Linked DNA regions of Homo sapiens: all the other regions are linked to region 2. Evidence: promoter capture Hi-C in 16 types of primary human blood cells and fetal thymus (Javierre and others, 2016). All regions are on one chromosome and are shown on one strand. The core of a region is centred on a gene start or on the middle of the fragment in contact, and the rest is flanking DNA. Distances in the headings are between cores, read along the strand shown.

What was found. The method cuts DNA at HindIII sites, captures the fragments that hold promoters and counts their contacts. A CHiCAGO score of 5 or more calls a contact.
Region 1: a fragment that was not itself captured here is called in contact with the fragment with the promoter of EFCAB12 in region 2 in 1 of 17 cell types (M2 macrophages); the score reaches 5.7 in M2 macrophages.
Region 3: a contact is called between a fragment that was not itself captured here and the fragment with the promoter of EFCAB12 in region 2, in 1 of 17 cell types (endothelial precursors). The highest score is 8.2, in endothelial precursors.

The regions. Positions count from the first base shown.
Region 1 is chr3:129,489,388-129,492,087 of GRCh38, forward strand. The region is part of intron 16 of IFT122 (intraflagellar transport 122); the gene reads left to right. Among named protein-coding and RNA genes, the nearest start is that of RHO, 38 kb to the right of the region's middle. RefSeq lists silencers at 291-499, 906-975 and an enhancer at 899-1,193. The HindIII fragment of the contact is 8,041 bases long and covers 1-2,700 here.
Region 2 is chr3:129,427,267-129,429,966 of GRCh38, forward strand. EFCAB12 (EF-hand calcium binding domain 12) reads right to left here and starts at 1,370. Exons shown (of 9, transcript NM_207307.3): 1 at 1,174-1,370. The coding sequence starts at 1,222. RefSeq lists a silencer at 1,507-1,556. The HindIII fragment of the contact is 3,479 bases long and covers 701-2,700 here.
Region 3 is chr3:129,377,229-129,379,928 of GRCh38, forward strand. No RefSeq gene overlaps it. Among named protein-coding and RNA genes, the nearest start is that of SNORA7B, 19 kb to the right of the region's middle. The HindIII fragment of the contact is 2,110 bases long and covers 250-2,359 here.

The DNA of each region.
Region 1 (2,700 bases), core at 6-2,505, 62 kb after region 2:
TTAACTGAGATGTTGTAAAGGGGAATTTAAATCAGGGATGGTTGTGCAGATGCTAGCCATTACTAAACAAGGGAAGTGATCGTTGTGTAACAATGATCTAGATTATATTTTTAGATGTCCTCAGTGTAGGAAAGTGGAGATGGAGGAGGCTGTAAGAATTCAGAGGAGGGGCCAGGCGCGGTGGCTCACGCCTGTAAATCCTAGCACTTTGGGAGGCCGAGGTGTGCGGATCACAAGGTCAGGAGATCGAGACCATCCTGGCTAACACGGTGAAACCCCGTCTCTACTAAAAATACAAAAAATTAGCCGGGCATGGTGGCAGGCGCCTGTAGTCCCAGCTACTCCGGAGGCTGAGGCAGGAGAATGGCGTGAACCTGGGAGGCGGAGCGTGCAGTGAGCCGAGATGGTGCCACTGCACTCCAGCCTGGGCCATAGAGCAAGACTCTGACTTAAAAAAAAAAAAAAAAAAGAATTCAGAGGAGGGAGGAGGCATCTCTATGGAGGGAGCTTCCCTCTCCTGCCCCACCCAGAAATGCCAGCAGGGAGGGAGACGACAAATCCCTAGAATAGAAAGGATTGTAAAAAGCCACAAGGTTTAATATGAGTGTTTACTGATATTTTTATAAATATATATATTTTTATATATTTGTTTAAATATTGAGACGGGGACTCACTGTGTTGCCCAGGCAGGTCTTGAACTCCTGGGCTCAAGCAGTCTTCTTGCCTCAGCCTCCCAAAGTGCTGGGATTACAGGTATAAACCACCACACCCAGCCAGATTTACTATAGTTGAAAAGTAAGTGTATGTGGTATATATCTATTGTGTACAACATGCTGTTTTGAAAAAGCCACATGATATTGAAGATAGGCTGGATGTTACTATTTCATCTAAATCCCGAGTACCCCACCTCTTTACTCTGTGCCAGGCACTCAGGCTCACCAGCTTGGATATAGTGGTTCCTAGAGATGGACAGCCATCCCCACTAGATGGCAGAGAAGAGCTGCTGAGCTCCCGCCAGACCCTGAGCAGAGCTGCAGGTTCCTCCCTATTCCCAGGCTTCCCTCTGCTGAGCTCATTCAGGGGCCTTGTGACTCTGACCAGGCACCCTGACGCTGCAAAATGTGTCAGGTTGAAGGAACTCGGAAACAGATTTATTAATGGGCAAATCCTAGACACTAGCACAGCTGAGCTACAGCTAGAAAGACCCTTGAGAGGGTGTCAGTAGCAGGCCCCTTTCCACAAAGAAGATGGTTGGAGCCCAGAAGCAGAGAAGTAGGCTCAGAGCGAGGACTCAGACCTCGAATGCTCCTTTCCCTCTTGGCCACTGTGCTGGGCTTTGCAGGGTTGCCCTCTCAAGGCGCTTTAAGGAAACCCAGATCTAGAGGGTGATGTGTAAGACCTACAGCTTGGGACACAGGTAGTCTTAGCCCTGTGTTCCTTGGCCCATGTGATGCCCGCATTGCCCTTTTCTACGAATTCCTCTTCACAAACACTTGTTTGCCAGGTTCTGACTCTGATGCCTCCCTTAACGCTGCCTCCCACCCCTGCTCATGCTCAGACCATTCATCCGTGTTCTCCAGGCATGTGGTTCGTAGTTGGAGAGCTCTTAGCTCTGGGAGGTGTCATGATCTGTTTAATTGACCAGCTTTCCCTGTTAGAATGTGGACCTCTGAATTGTGGAGGGGGACAGGGGCCGAGACATGTTTCTCCCTGGGTCCTCAGTCTCTTGACAGGAAGCCTGGTCCTGTGGGATGAAAAGATAAAGTTGCATTGTGGTCACCTGCAAGGCAGGCCGGGGACTTGCTCATCTCCCGAGGTCTTTTCAGGAGGGAGGATGCCATGCTGCTGAGCAGAGGCTGCAAGTGGTCAGGATTGCTCTGCGTGTTCAGTTCAAAGGGCTCTGGAGCTGCTGCCTCCTCTAGGCACAGGTCAGCCCATTTTGAATGGGGCAATAAATGGTGACAGCAAAGCCACCTGAAAGCAGCCTGACCTGGTGGCTTGTGCTCCTCCAAACCCTGGGCAGAATCTGAAAGCAGCAAAACTAGCTTAGCTAACACCAGTCTGCTTGTTCCTCAGAAACTTCTAGAGGTCCATGAGTTAAAGTCTCTGGCTTTACTGTGAGTTCAAGGCAAGGGCTGCAATTTTAGGGTTTACATAAAGAGTTTGCCTTCCACAGACTTGGTGGGATTCATTCCCTACCCCTCCACCTTCTTCCAGAATCTGTCTTTATACCCTCTCAGCTTTCCCCTCCTCTGCTCCCTCTGTGGTACCAGGGGCTCTGGGTCCCCTGTGTCTGTGGCACCACTGGGTAGGCATAGCTGTCCCCTGCATTCTACCCATGTTGCCAAGATGTATAGGCAGTCTCTCATCAGTCCATGCATCTCATCCTCTCCTGCTGTGATGCTGCGTGACCCCCCAGAGGGTCAGACCGGCTTGTTCTTCTTTGGGTCTAGAGTCTCCCAAGGAGGCACCGCCACAGACTGTGGCATCACGGTTTTGTTTTACCTGATCTCAAAATGACTGATGCAACTGGGATGTCTTTGCTGTTCTTTACATGGTCCAATCCCATGGATAAAGCCATGCCTCGCTGGGTGGTATAACCTCCTGCACGCACGATGATTAATCTGTGCTTGCTCCCTTCCTCTCCTCTGTGGCTCACTGTCTAGATAGAGCTTGACTTCCCACCCCTAGCCAATCACC
Region 2 (2,700 bases), core at 120-2,619:
GGCGTGAGATACTGTGCCCAGCTACTGACAAGGATCTTAAACTCAACCAACCAAGACTGGATTTGTCTTTGTGCCCCTTCCCCCACTAACTGGGTCCTCTGAGTACGTTCTCTTATCTCTGTGGAAGACATCTCCATCTACCAGGTCCCCCAGCTGCCAACTTGAGAACCATCTTTATTTGCCTCTTCTGTGTTTCCTGACCAACCAGCCCCCAAGTCCCGTAGTTCCCTCTAGCCTGGGCCTTCTCCCTCACCTCCCAGCATCTTTAGCTTGGGCATTTGACCAGAGCCCTGACCTGTGTGCCTGGGAAAGGTGGCCAGCCTCTCCAGCTCTCCCTGTTTCTCCACTGGGCATTAATGTGTTCAGTGCTGGAGAAGCGGCATGGAGAAGACCTTCAGTCTTCAAGCTTTATAGCCCCCAGCTCTCATCTCCCCACACCAACATTCTGAGTCTGCCAACTCAGTCTCAGGTCTTTTCTGACTGCTCCCAATCCAGTCCTGCCACTCCCAGTGGCCTCTCCATCTCCTGGCTTGCAGTATCTTTTATGATCTTGTCCCTTCTGACCTCTCTCACCTCATTTCCAGAGACACCAGACCTCTTGGGTCATGCTGTTTCCTTGCCCGAAATGCTTTTCCTTCCCCTTTTGGCTTGGAGAACTCCTTTTTATCCTTTAAGCTCCAGTGTAAAGATCTTTTCCAAAAGCTTGGAACTGTTCCTCCCCATCCCATACCCTCAGCACACCTTTTACTCCTGGGTGTCATCCCTGGGCCCGGCATTTACCCCTTCTTATTCTGTAATTATCCATTTATCTCTGTCCTTTACCCGTGAAGCTGCATTGCTTTGCCAAGAACTTGGTCCCCAGCACATTACTGCCAAAACCTTGAAGACTGACGTCTTCTCCATGCCTCTCCTCCAGTACTGAATACATTAATGTCCTGCAGAGAAACAGGGCGAGCTGGAGGGCTCCCGTCACATGGGTCGGGCCTCTGGTTCCTCCAACTAGGCTCAGATAGAAATCTCAGAAATGTACATGACCTGCCCCCGACTCCATGGCAACCCTTCACCCAGAGGGGGTCGGCACAATATCTGTGGCTGAGTTTTTGCCCTCACCCCACTTTCACGCGTCCTTAGGGCGCTGAGCGCTCCCTGCAGACGCTTCTTCCCGGGGCTTACCGAGCAGCGACAAGAACAGACTGTGGTACGCTTCATAGTCGTCGTCCATGGTCGTGGTGCTGGGAGGGGGTGCTGAAGGGCGTGTGTGAATGTGTGTCGATGTGGGCTTGCTTGCGTAGGGGTACCGGGGTATCAGATAAACCGTAACTCCAAGTCGTGCGAAAGGCGCTCAGCTCAGACTGCAGAAGCAACCTGTTGCCGTGGCTACGGACGCCCCGCGCCAATTGGCTGAGCGCTGTCACGTGTTAAGAGCGAGCCCGCCCTGCCGAGCGCCTGCTGGCCCCACCTCGTTTTCGTCCAATTCTGGGAGGGGCAGCGAGCAAATCCACGCCCCGCCCAGTTCTGGGCTTGGTGAAAGGCGGGATTTCTTTGTTCGGCCCAGTAGTCCCTGAATCCAGTGTAGAAAGTCTCCGGTTTTCCCGTGAAATGTGGGATCTTCCGCAGGTCTCCATATCTCTAGGCCTCAGTTTTCTCATAGGAAAAATAGGCCCTGCCTCCTCCAGAGGGTTAGGAAGAACCAAAGTGAGCTGTGGCCAGATAGAGGTGTTGGGTATGTTCTGCCCCGCTTATGGCAGGGTGCCATGGTTTGGAGTTACAGAACCTGAGGACCAGAGAATAATAATAAACCCTTGAAATGTGCATCAACTGATAAGCAAAATGAGGTATATCCATAGGATGGCCATAAGAAGGAATGAAGTACATGCTACAATATGGATAAACCTTCAAAACAGTATGCTAAGCAAGAAGCTAGACACAAAAGGCCACGTGCTGTATGATTCCATTTATGTGAAATGTTCAGCATAGACGAACCCACAGACACGGAAAGTAGATGAATGGTTGCTAGGGGATGGGGTGAGTAATTGAAGTGACTGCTAACAGGTGGAGAGATTCTTTTTGGAGTGGAAAAAAGAAATGGAAACTTCTGGAATTAGTGATGATGGCTGCACACTGTAAATGTACTAAACCACTGAACTGTACACTTTAAAATGGTTAAATGGTGGCTTTTAGCTCAATTTTTAAAAAGTTAAAGAGAAACACCTAAGCCCTTATTCCTTTGCTGAGACAAGCTATCTTTGTGACGCTTGCAAACAGATTGTTGCCATGGGCCACATTCACACAGCACTCTTGCAAGCCAGGTACCATTTTAGCACTACATGTCTGAACTTCATAATTACCATCATTGTGTGAGGTAGACACCACTATCCCATTTTTAAAAGACAAGTTAACAGGTACAGAGGTCAGGCAACCTCACCTGCAAGAAACAGGAAAAGCCAGGCCTAGAGCCTGAGCAACCTGGCTGTGTCCTGAGCTCCCCTGGTGCAGAGCTCGCCTCCTGCATTCACACGGGCCCACACTCCCCATGGAGATGCTGGGGGAAGGTATGTGACCACCAGCCCTACCACAAAGCCACACCTGATGCCCTGAGCTTGGTGAGCTCGCCCCACCCTCCAGGCCCAGCTGGGCCCAAGGTTTCAGAGGCCCCTCTCCACCCTCTTTGGGTGTCTTGTCCCTACTCCTTACCGCTTT
Region 3 (2,700 bases), core at 55-2,554, 50 kb before region 2:
GTGTCAATCTCCTGACCTCATGATCCACCCACCTCGGCCTCCCAAAGTGCTGGGACTACAGGTGTCAGCCACAGTGCCCAGCCAAGCCCAGGTTCTTTTCATGTAGATGAAGCCTTCAGGTAGCAAACTTCAGAGAGAATAGATGGCAAATGTCTCTTGTCTGACCTTAAAAAGTGTCAGCCTCTCCAGAAAAGACCTAGTAAGAGAAGGAGATTCTCTACAGAATGCAAATTTTCCCACACAAGAGAAAGCTTTGCAGGCCCATTTCAAAATATGTCAACAAAATATATTTTGGGGTAAAATACTTTGATTTCCTTAAGGGCCTACTGTTTCATGATGCTGTCATGAAAAAAAACTAGTTCCAACCATCATGGGCATAAGGAGACCCACAATGGGTAGCTCCTCTCTGTAGGCAGGTGGTCCTGTGGAGTGTTCAGCTCTCAGCAGAGAGGAGGCCCTGGGAGGGTGGCTCCTCTCTGCAGGCAGTTCATCTCATTGTCTCTGCAGCTCTCAGTAGATTGGAGCCCCTGGAGAGGGTAGCTCCACTCTCTACTGGTCGTCCTGACATCTGCCGAACTCCTAGCAGAGAGGAAGCCCTGGAGTGGGTTGCTCCTCTCTGAAGCTGGTAGTCCCAACATCTCTGCAGGCCTGTGAAGCTCTCAGCAGAAAGGGTAGCTCTTCTCTGCAGCTGGTCATCCCATAGTCTGCTTAGCTCTGGCTGAACCTGGGGTTTTTATGGGCCTCAGAGGGGAAAAAGTGTATGCTGATTGGTACTTGGGTGGGCCTGGAAAAGGCACCACAAGTTCCCAGTCCAGTCCATGAGACTGGCAGCCTTGGTTCCCAGCCTTCAGACCCTCCCTGGCCTGAAGGTGGGGCCTCACTGGGGACCGGCCCCCTTCCATCCAGGAATCTGTCTGCCTCCTGCTGCCTTCATGACACCTGAGCTTGGCCCCAACATTCCTCCAAGATTGGAGTGGGCAACAACAGCAGGGAGAAGCCAGGCAATGGGAGCAGGCACTGCTGAGCCTGCAAGGGGAAGGGATGCTTCCTGGCCCTCAAGAGTGCAGGGGTGCCTGAGTCTGCAGCCATGGTTTAGGCAGCTACAGCTGTGCCTGGGAGGGCAGGGATCCTGCTTGCTCCTGGCCTCCCAAGAGCACAGGGAGGCTCAGACCTGCAGCCACAAGTTGGGCAGCTACAGCCCTGCCCCGGAGGGCAGGGCTCCTGCCTGCTCTGTGGAGTGGGAGGCCCAGGTCTGCAACCCAATGGTTTGGGCAGCTGCAGTGGCACCTGGGGAGCTCCCACCCCAACTTGGAAGGGCTTCATGGAGTGTGCAACCCCAGCCACGTCTCCCTGCTGCAGCTGGGAGCTACAGTTGAACAGTTGGCTACATTTCATTGTCCAAAACACAGTGATCTGGAGCAGCCACTGCCATCAATGGTATATCAGAATCATGTTGAAATACGGTGTTCTATTGCTGTTACTGGAAGGAGGGCCTTGGGTGTAAGTTGTCTAGGTTCTTGGTGTTTTGAACAAAAAACTGGACAAAATGCACTAAGTAACAAAGGAATGAAACACAGGATCGAAGTACCAAAATCAGGGATTTATAAAAGAGAGAAGGTACGCCACAGGGTGGGACTGGGCCCGAGCAGCTCAAGGGCCCAGTTACAAAGTTTTCTGGGTTTCAAGCACTCCTTTTGAGGTTCCTATCAGTTACCCCTTATATAGTTGAAGGATTTGGTCTGTGGCTAAGTAAACACTGAGGTGAATGGCACCCTATGCAGATGAAGGGATGGTCCCTGCTTGGCCTGTGGCCACTCCAAGCCACTCTCCCTTTTTGTCTAAGCCATGGTGGAAGGGGGAGGGTTGTAGAAAGAGTAACCTTTGACCCTTTGCTACTAAGGCATGGGGAGCTGGGTTTTTCCTTTCGGTTTAGCTTCAGGAAGTTGGCATTAACTGGCCTTAGGGCCCCTGCCTCCAGACCCAGGTGTTTCCCTTTTGATCCAGCTTTGGGAAGTCAGCACAAATTGGCCTCAGATTCCCTGCTTCCCCCCAGACCTTGGTGTTTTTCCTTGATTCAGCATGAATTGGCCTTAAGTTCCTTGCCTCCAGACTGTACTATCCTGCCTCATTGCTACAGAGTCTGTTTTGTCAGTCTTGAGACCCCAGTTTTCTTGTTAATACTGGTCTATTGTGTCTAAACTCTAAAGGGAGGAGGGTAAAATGAGGCAAGTCTGACCCCTTATGCCCATGATGGTTGGAACTAGTTTTTTAGGGGTTTTTTGGAATTCCCCTTCTCCAAGGGGAGGGGTTCATTCAATGGAGGCACAGAGGGCTTAGAGTTTTACTTTTGGTTTACACAAGCTTAAAGAGAAAAAACTTGCCTTCAATACTAAAACTAAAAGATGGGACTGGAAATTTCAAAGATAAAGACCCCAAACAGAGAAAACAGCACTTCCACATCCACATTTGGGAACCATTAGCACAGAGGTCCCAGGTGACTGCTCTTTCCTGCCCAGGAAGCCAGGAGAGATGCAGGCCCCCGAAGCACACTGGCTGGCCTAAAACAAGGGCAAGGCCTTTCCTTGTTGAAGATGTCCCGGCCAAACTCAGACTCGTTCTTGTTCCCGCATGACGCAGGAGAATAGGGTCTGGAGGGAGGGAACCTAAGGCCGATTCATGCTGACTTCCTAGAACTGAATC